Regions from separate parts of the Homo sapiens genome. Here region 1 is linked to region 2. The links are contacts of gene promoters, found by promoter capture Hi-C in blood cells and fetal thymus (Javierre and others, 2016). All regions are on one chromosome and are shown on one strand. Each heading gives the region's core, a stretch centred on a gene start or on the middle of the fragment in contact. The rest is flanking DNA. Distances are from core to core; before and after follow the strand shown. Region 1 overlaps SLC35F3 (solute carrier family 35 member F3). Region 2 holds the start of MAP3K21 (mitogen-activated protein kinase kinase kinase 21).

The links. Contacts are between HindIII fragments. The CHiCAGO score rates a contact against its expected background, and 5 or more counts as called.
Region 1: a fragment that was not itself captured here is called in contact with the fragment with the promoter of MAP3K21 in region 2 in 7 of 17 cell types (M2 macrophages, erythroblasts, total CD4 T cells and 4 more); the score reaches 8.0 in M2 macrophages.

What each region holds. Positions count from the first base shown.
Region 1 is chr1:234,070,530-234,074,296 of GRCh38, reverse strand. The region is part of intron 2 of SLC35F3 (solute carrier family 35 member F3); the gene reads right to left. Among named protein-coding and RNA genes, the nearest start is that of SLC35F3, 170 kb to the right of the region's middle. RefSeq lists an enhancer at 283-1,482. The HindIII fragment of the contact is 2,588 bases long and covers 338-2,925 here.
Region 2 is chr1:233,325,894-233,329,840 of GRCh38, reverse strand. MAP3K21 (mitogen-activated protein kinase kinase kinase 21) reads right to left here and starts at 2,117. Exons shown (of 10, transcript NM_032435.3): 1 at 1,008-2,117. The coding sequence starts at 1,812. It also overlaps a transcript of PCNX2 not described here. RefSeq lists silencers at 1,474-1,673, 1,863-2,014, 1,814-2,113, 2,304-2,603. The HindIII fragment of the contact is 7,885 bases long and covers 1-3,947 here.

The DNA.
Region 1 (3,767 bases), core at 382-2,881, 740 kb before region 2:
GAAGTGGGTCCAGAAGAGATAATAGCAGGTAATGAAAAGAGAACAGGACCAGCAATCAGGATGGAAGCTTCTGCTACTGACCAGCCATGTGACCCGTGACCTTGACGTACATTTTAAAGGGAAAGCTGAAGGGAGTGTTTAACTTATGAAGAGTAGGATGACACCCGACACCTGTGAAAAGAAGGTAGTTTTCAGACCGTGAGACAAGAGGGACGTTTCTTAAAATGTAGCACCAAGCACATTAATAGAAAAACAGTAGAAGAATAGATGGAGAATTTTGCCACACTCAATATGGCTTCCAGGCCTGCCAGACCTAGCAGAAAAAGAAACTAAAGCTTGGACAATGATACACAATATAAAGACACTTAACACGATCGAATGCACACTTAAAAATGGCCCAGATGGTAAATTTTATGTTACAAATATTTTACCACATTTAATAATAAAAAAAGAAACTGAAGCAAGTACGACATCAAACTTGGGACTTTTTCCTGGGACACCCACAAGCAAATGGGAAAAATGAGGGAAAGAAGAGAAAAAAGTCCAGTGGTTTCACAGTTTATACTGGATTTTTATTTTATATGGACAATGAAATGAGTGGTATGTATCATATATTTATCATGTCGGAGGAAGTGATTTAAATTGATCTGATTCACAGAATTTCAGAATGATTTCCCAGTACCTTTGAAGGAACCGGGAGGTAGGTGACGGGTATCCTGATGGATAGGCTGAATGGTTTGTTCACAGTCTCCAACAGCAATGGCTGCTGCTTCTTTCCATGATGACTTTTGTGTTTCGATTATCCAGCTATGCAAGGTGCTTATGGAAGGACTCAAGAAATAGAAGATAGGGGACTGGGCATGGTGGTTCATGCCTGTAATCCTAGCACTTTGGAAGGCAAGGCAGGAGGATCTCTTGAGCCCAGGATTTCAGGACCAGTCTGTGTAACACAGTGCGATCCCATCTCTACAAAATTTTTTTTTAAATTAGCCAGACTTGGTGGCTCATGGCTATAGTTCCACATACATGGGAAGCTGAGGTGGGAGGATTGCTTGAGCCCAGGAGTTCAAGGCTGCAGTGTGCTATGATCACGTCACTGCATTCCAGCCTGGGTGACACAGCAAGACCCTATCTGTAAAATAAAAATCAAAAGGAAATAGAAGCTAGCATATCTGCCCATCTGACATTTGTGTTCTTGTGGGAAAGGTACAGACACATCCACACGGAACAGATGAGTCAATGGGATCACTTTGTACTGCCTCTGCAGCCACCTCCATCATCTCTCCACTGGGTTATCACAAACACCCTCGCCAGGTCTCCCAGTGCCCACGCCTGTCCTCCCACCATCTGCTTTGCCATATAACAACCAAAGTGATTCTTTTCAAACCTAAGTTAGTTCATGCCACTCCTCTAATCAAAGCCTTCCAGGGTCTTCCCATCTCTCCATGCCAAGCCAAGGTCCTTACAAGACCTCTGAGGCCTGGTGTGATGGGGACCCTTGCCCCCTTGCCCATGGGTCCTGCCACTCTTTGCTGACTCATAGGCCGCAGCCATTTTGGCTTCCTCCTGTTCCCCAAACACTTCAAGCATAGCCTCATTGCAAGGGGTTGCATTGGCTTTCTTTTCTGCCTGGAACACCGTTCTTCCCGAGATCCACAGCCCCCCACCCCTTTCTCTGTTCAATTATCTTCACATCAGAGATACTTCCCCGGTCACCGCATAGAAAATGGCAAGTTCTCCTGTCTGTCCCAGGCCCTCCTGGCTTAATTTTTCTCCATCGTATTAAACGCTACCTAACATGTTACATATTTAATTGTATATTTGCTTCATGTCTCTCTCTTTCTACCAAGGAGGGCCAGGGTTTTGTTTTGTTCACTGCATTATCTCCATCAGTGTCTGATGAGTGCTCAGGAAGTATCTGTTGAGTGAATTAAGGGCCCAATGACTGGCACAGGCAATTGTCACTAACAGAAAATTATGTTTGCATCTGAATAAAGGCAGAAAGAAACATATGACCATAGCAAGTGCCTTTTATTAAGTGCAACCTTCTTCACAGATAAATAAATGTAAACCCAGGGCACAGCTACTTAGACAAGACAGAAAAATATCCAAAATAAACCAGCACTGTTAGGATTGTCCTATTCTTCTAGAAATCCTTGGAGTTAGCAACAGCACATAAAGCAGTCATGCTGCCTACAATATCTACTGTTGTTGAATTAATTTCAGTAGTCACTTACATAAATCTGACTCTAAAAACAGTTATTTCCACTCAGCTACATTGTCATAAGTTCTCTCATTCCCAATTCAAGCAACCACACTCATGAGTCCCCTGATTCCTTTTTCTGTCCAGGCCAGTAAATGGTGCCAATTGTGCCCTGTGGGATATAATGAAACTTTATTGACAAGGGATAGTGGAGTTTCTTAACTCCCATAACTTCAACAACTAGCCAACAATTTGGGGAGTAGAAAGGGTGGTCCTTGGCCATTAATTACATCTTAACGAGGCATGCCAATAGGAGGTACGGAGTTTGGGAGGAGCTGTTATTAATAGGTTTGTAGGTGGAAATTAGACACCTTTTGAAGCATTCTGCTGCTTTCTTCCCAAGGCCTCACTTCTTCAATGACAAATTGCATGTTCATAGATCTGAATAACATGGAATGTTCATTAAATATTCCTAAAAATGTTATTTGTTGTAACTTTCATGGTGAGAGCCTACTAAACTGATAATTTCTGTTTAACCCATTAATGCTCTACTCCTATCAGAGGTGAGAGAAATGGCAAAGATTTGGAAACACATGAATTTGGTCACGTAAGGACTGTCCACCCACCCATTAACTTACAGGCTCTCTGCCAGGGGTGGAGGACCCAGCAGGAGTGACAAGAACGTCGTCTTTGCTCTAATGAAACCAGGATGGGAACAAGCTTTCTGAAAATGGTTCTAAAAGAAGCACCATGATGATGGAGCTGTTTTACCATTTTACTCTCTGGAGAGTCCCAAGGACTTTGAACAGTGCCTGGCCCATAGTTTCTCAGTAAGTAATTGTCAAGGAAATAAAGAAAGCATTTGACTAGCACCTGACCCCCAGCAGGTACTCATGTGTTGTAGCGATATTATTGATAGATTCTTGACTTGCCAGGTCCCTAGACTCTGCCGGGTCTGCTCTTGGGTCCTCTCCACACATAGGGCCAGAGGAGGGACAACTCCTTTGAAAGGTATACAGTCTCTTCACTGTATACCTAACAAGACAGACTTTCTCTGATAGAGTCGTGAGGCTCTGTCGGCTGCCTGGAGGCAGGGCTTCAGGTGAGACGGGATTGCTCTGCATCTATTTCCTCATCTCCCAAAATGGGAGTTGAGGGTAAGCTCTCAGATTCTTCCTAGTTCTAACAGTCTCCAATTGTAACTCTGCACAAATCTAGAAGGTTGAGAGGAGCATTAATTATTTATTTTAAGGAGGCCATCATACAAAATTACTAAAATGAACTGATATGTTATGGGGTGGCATAAAAATATGTCAATTATAACCTTACAAAAAAAAACTGCAGGAAATAGACAAATTCTTAAAATATGGAAAAACAGAAAAAGATGTTAACTAATATGAATTGTTAGAACAATTCTATGAACCTGATGAGATTAAAAAACAATAATACACATGGAAACTATCTATAAAGGTAATTAAAAACAAATTGCGGACACACCCAACATTCTGTTAGATTTGTCTATGGGACAGAGGCATAATATGGCTATGGTCACCATATTTGCTAA
Region 2 (3,947 bases), core at 868-3,367:
GATTTATAAACAAAGTCAATGACACTGGCCAGGTCTTCAAGGTTTCAAGTACCTGTGCAAGGACAATGCACTTGTTATTAACCCAAAAGTGCATTACGGTGCACACCAGTGCCTCTTGTCTGGAGAAAAGAAGCCATTGAACCAATAATAAAATCATATTTCACGTAGAGACACTTTTTTTTTTTTTGAGACAGAGTCTCACTCTATCTCCTAGGCTGGAGTGCAGTGGCGCGATCTTGGCTCACTGCAACTTCCGCCTCCCGGGTTCAAGTGATTCTCATGCCTCCGCCTCCCGAGTAGCTGGGATTACAGGCGCCTGCCACTACGCCGGGCTAATTTTTGTATTTTTAGTAGCGACAGGGTTTCGCCATGTTGGCCAGGCTGGTCTCAAACTCGTAACCTCAGGTGATCCGCCCACCTCGGCCTCCCAAAGTGCTGGGATTACAGGTATGAGCCACCGCGCCTGGCCCATAGAGAGACATTTGAATGAAAACAGTCTTTGGAAAAGGTAAGAGACATGAAGTCATATTTTGAATAGGCAAACAGCAACCTCAATACAGCACTTGTAAAGTTGACGTCCCCGAGTGCATTCGGGGACTTTGATGAAGGCCACCGGGTGAAGACGGTCATGGGTTCCATATAATCTGCAGAAGGCCTCGGTTTGCAAAGTCCTACCCAGATGAATCACCTCTGGTATTGAAAGGCCAGACTGCCCCCTGAGGTTTCTAGGAGATCCAGGTATTTTACAAATGTTTCCTCTACAAGCAAGTCTGGTCTGAACTTTTTTAAAAAGCACCCAAAGGCAAGTCAAGGTTAAGCGTGTCACCAGCCCCAAAGCAAGTAACCAAGGACTAGCTGGACTTCCGAGCCCTGAAGGCCTGGGCATGAGTTGCTGCTGGCGCCCTAAGGCTGACTCCCACCTCTTTCCATCTGGTACTATGTCCTGTGGAGCCCGCCTGGGCTGGCACGGAGGTAGTCTTCCCCCACCTCCCTCTGGCCCCACTTACTGTTGCTGGACTTGAGGTCCCGGTGCAGGATGGGCACGAAGGCCTCCTCATGCAGGTAGAGCATGCCCCGCGCTATCTGCACGGCCCAGTTGACCAGCACGTGCGGAGGGATGCGGCGCGCGCGGCGGGGGCCGGGCGCGCGCGGGTCCGGGGCGGCGTTGGCAGCGGCCAGCGCTCGGTTGAGCGCTCCGCCGCGGGCGAACTCCAGCACCAGGCAGAGGTGCGGCTGCTGCAGGCACACGCCGCGCAGCTCGATGATGTTGGGGTGCCGCAGCATGGCGAAGAGCCGAGCCTCGCGCCGCACGCTCTCGGCAGCCGCCGCCGCGTCCTGCTCCGGGTCCTGGCGCGCCGCCTTCACGGCCACCTCCTGGCCCTGCCAGGTGGCGCGGTACACCTGCCCGAAGCCCCCAGCGCCGATGAGCTCCTTCAGCTCCAGCCGCTCGAAGGCGACGTGTACCGGGGAGCTGGGCCGCGAGGGCGGCGGCGCGGGGCTGGCGGCCGGGCGGCAGGGAGCCACGTAGTTGGCGGGGAAGATGCCGAGGCGCCGCTGCACCTGGCCTGCCCACCAGCCCTCGTCGCCCGACACGGCGGCGTCCTGCGACAGCACCTCCACCAGCTGGCCGCGCCGCAGGCTCAGCTCGTCCTCGCCGCGAGCCTCGTAGTCATAGAGCGCGGCCCACAGCCCCGCGCCCGCCGAGGCCGAGCCGCCCGAGGAGGTGGACGACGAGGACGCTGAGCCGCCGGGGGCTCCCCCGGCCGAGGACACCGGGGTGTCGGTCGCTCCCGCGGCGCCCCGCAAAGCCATGGGGGCAGCTGCGCGGGGAAGGCGGAGCGGGAAGCTGGGCTCAGCCTCCCGGGCGGCCGCGGGCGCGCATCGTCCGGCGGTGTGGCCGTCGGCGCCGGGGGAAGGCGAGGGGGTAGGAATCGCGATCGGTGACGGCAGAGATCACGGGCTAGCTGCCCAAAGGGTCCAGCCTCGGCCCGCGTTCCTGGCCAGCCGCCTCTGCTGCCGCAGCGGTCCCCGAAGCCGCGGGCGACGTCCCACCATGGTCGTGCCCAGGCCCTGCGGCCGGCCCGCCCGCCGCGCGCTCCTTAGCCAGAGCCTGGGACGCCCCACCCCACCCTAGCCGCGCCAGGGCCGCCCCGCCCCCTCCGGCTCCATTCCGCACCGCCCCCCCACCCCCCCGGGCCCGCCCCTAGGCCAGTCCCCAGGGCCTTCCCGCCCCTCCCCCAGCCGCCCCGCCCTCTCCAGGTTCATTCCGCCCTCCTTGACCCGTCCCGGGCGCCCAGTCTGCGCCCGCCCTATGGGACCGCCTTCCTAGGTTCGCCCCACCCTTCCCCACCAACTGCACCATCCCGCCCCGCCCTCGCCAGGTTCACTTCCCTTTTCTGTGCCAGTCCCCAGAGCCTCGTCCCGCCCCTGGCGCCCGGGCCCGTCCCCCACCACCTTGGGCCGGGCCCGCCCCCTGGGCCCGCCTGGCTGGTCCCACCCCGCCCCCGCCGCAGGTGCTCCGGAGCAATGGTGAGCCGCGCCCACATGGTCTGGGAGGCGGGATCGGCCGTCATCCGCTATAAATTTTCGGGAGAGTTTAAATTAAGCCAAAGGTAAGACTGAGGGAGGGGACGCTTCTCCAAGAAGCGGTGGGAGAGGGTTGAGAAGATGTGGGGCTTTAGGGTGTGGCGGGGAGAGAGAGAGTTGCAGTTCAGGGAGAGTGACAGAATCTCAGAACGGGCTACAGAAGAAATTGTAGCGCGGTGCCAGACCTGGGCCAGTGCGAGTGGCAAGTCACCATGCTAAGTGCGTTTGAGCCACCGTGCATCTCAGAACTGACTAGGTTACAGATCGCAGCGCAGAGTGACCCGTGGTCGGTATAGTCCCAGAAGCTCCATGATGGTAAATCCTTTGCTTATTTTTACTGTCTACTCAGATGGAAAATGCCCCAGTCTCCCTGGAAACCCACAGGTTTGGGTTTAGGAAGCATTGGCAATGGCTGGGTGCCAGACGTTGGTAGGTTACTGTGGCAGGTGATGAGGCTAAAAAGATAGAAGAGCTTAGTTATTAAAATTCTAAAATATTAGATTATCCTGTAGTAGGCCAGAATTTCCTAACGTGTGGATCCTGTACTTCCAATAACAGAAGGGACAATTTTAGATATTATGAGGATAGGACATACAGTAACATTCTGAGTTACATAAAGATAAATTTATTGTCTTTTCAGTTTTCTTTGTCTCTCAGATCAAACTATTTATTGGCTGTGTGACCTTGAGCAAGTTTCTTTATTTCTCTATGACTCAGTTTTCTCATCTATAAAATGGGAATATAATAAATAGTACCTACTTTATAGGGTTTTTAGGAAGACTAAATGAGTTAATAGTTTTACAGTGGGTCTTCTGCATCCACAGAATCAACCAACAGCTGGTCAAAAATGTTTTTTAAAAACCCAAAAAATAACAATACAAATAATACAAATAAAATACAGCATAACAACTATTTACAGAGCATTTACATTATATTAGGTATTATAAGTAATCTAACTATTTAAAGTATGGGCATACTTTGGAGATACTGCAAGCATGGTTCCAGATCACTGCAATAAAGCAAGTGACATGAATTTTTTGATTTCCCAGTGCATATATATACAAGTTATGTTTCCAGTATACTGTAGCGTATAAAGTGTGCAATAGCATTGTGTCTAAAGAATGTTTATACCTTAATTTTAAGTACTTTATAGGTAAAATGTGCTAATGATCATCTGAACCTTCAGCAAGTCATAATCTTTTAGCTGGCAGAGGTCTTGCCTCTATGTTGATAGCTGCTGACTGATCAAGGCAGTGGTTGCTAAAAGTTGGAGTGGCTATGGCAAATTCTTAAGGCAACTATGAAGTTTGTCACATGGATTGACTTTACCTTTCACGAAAGACTTCTCTGTAGCATGGGAA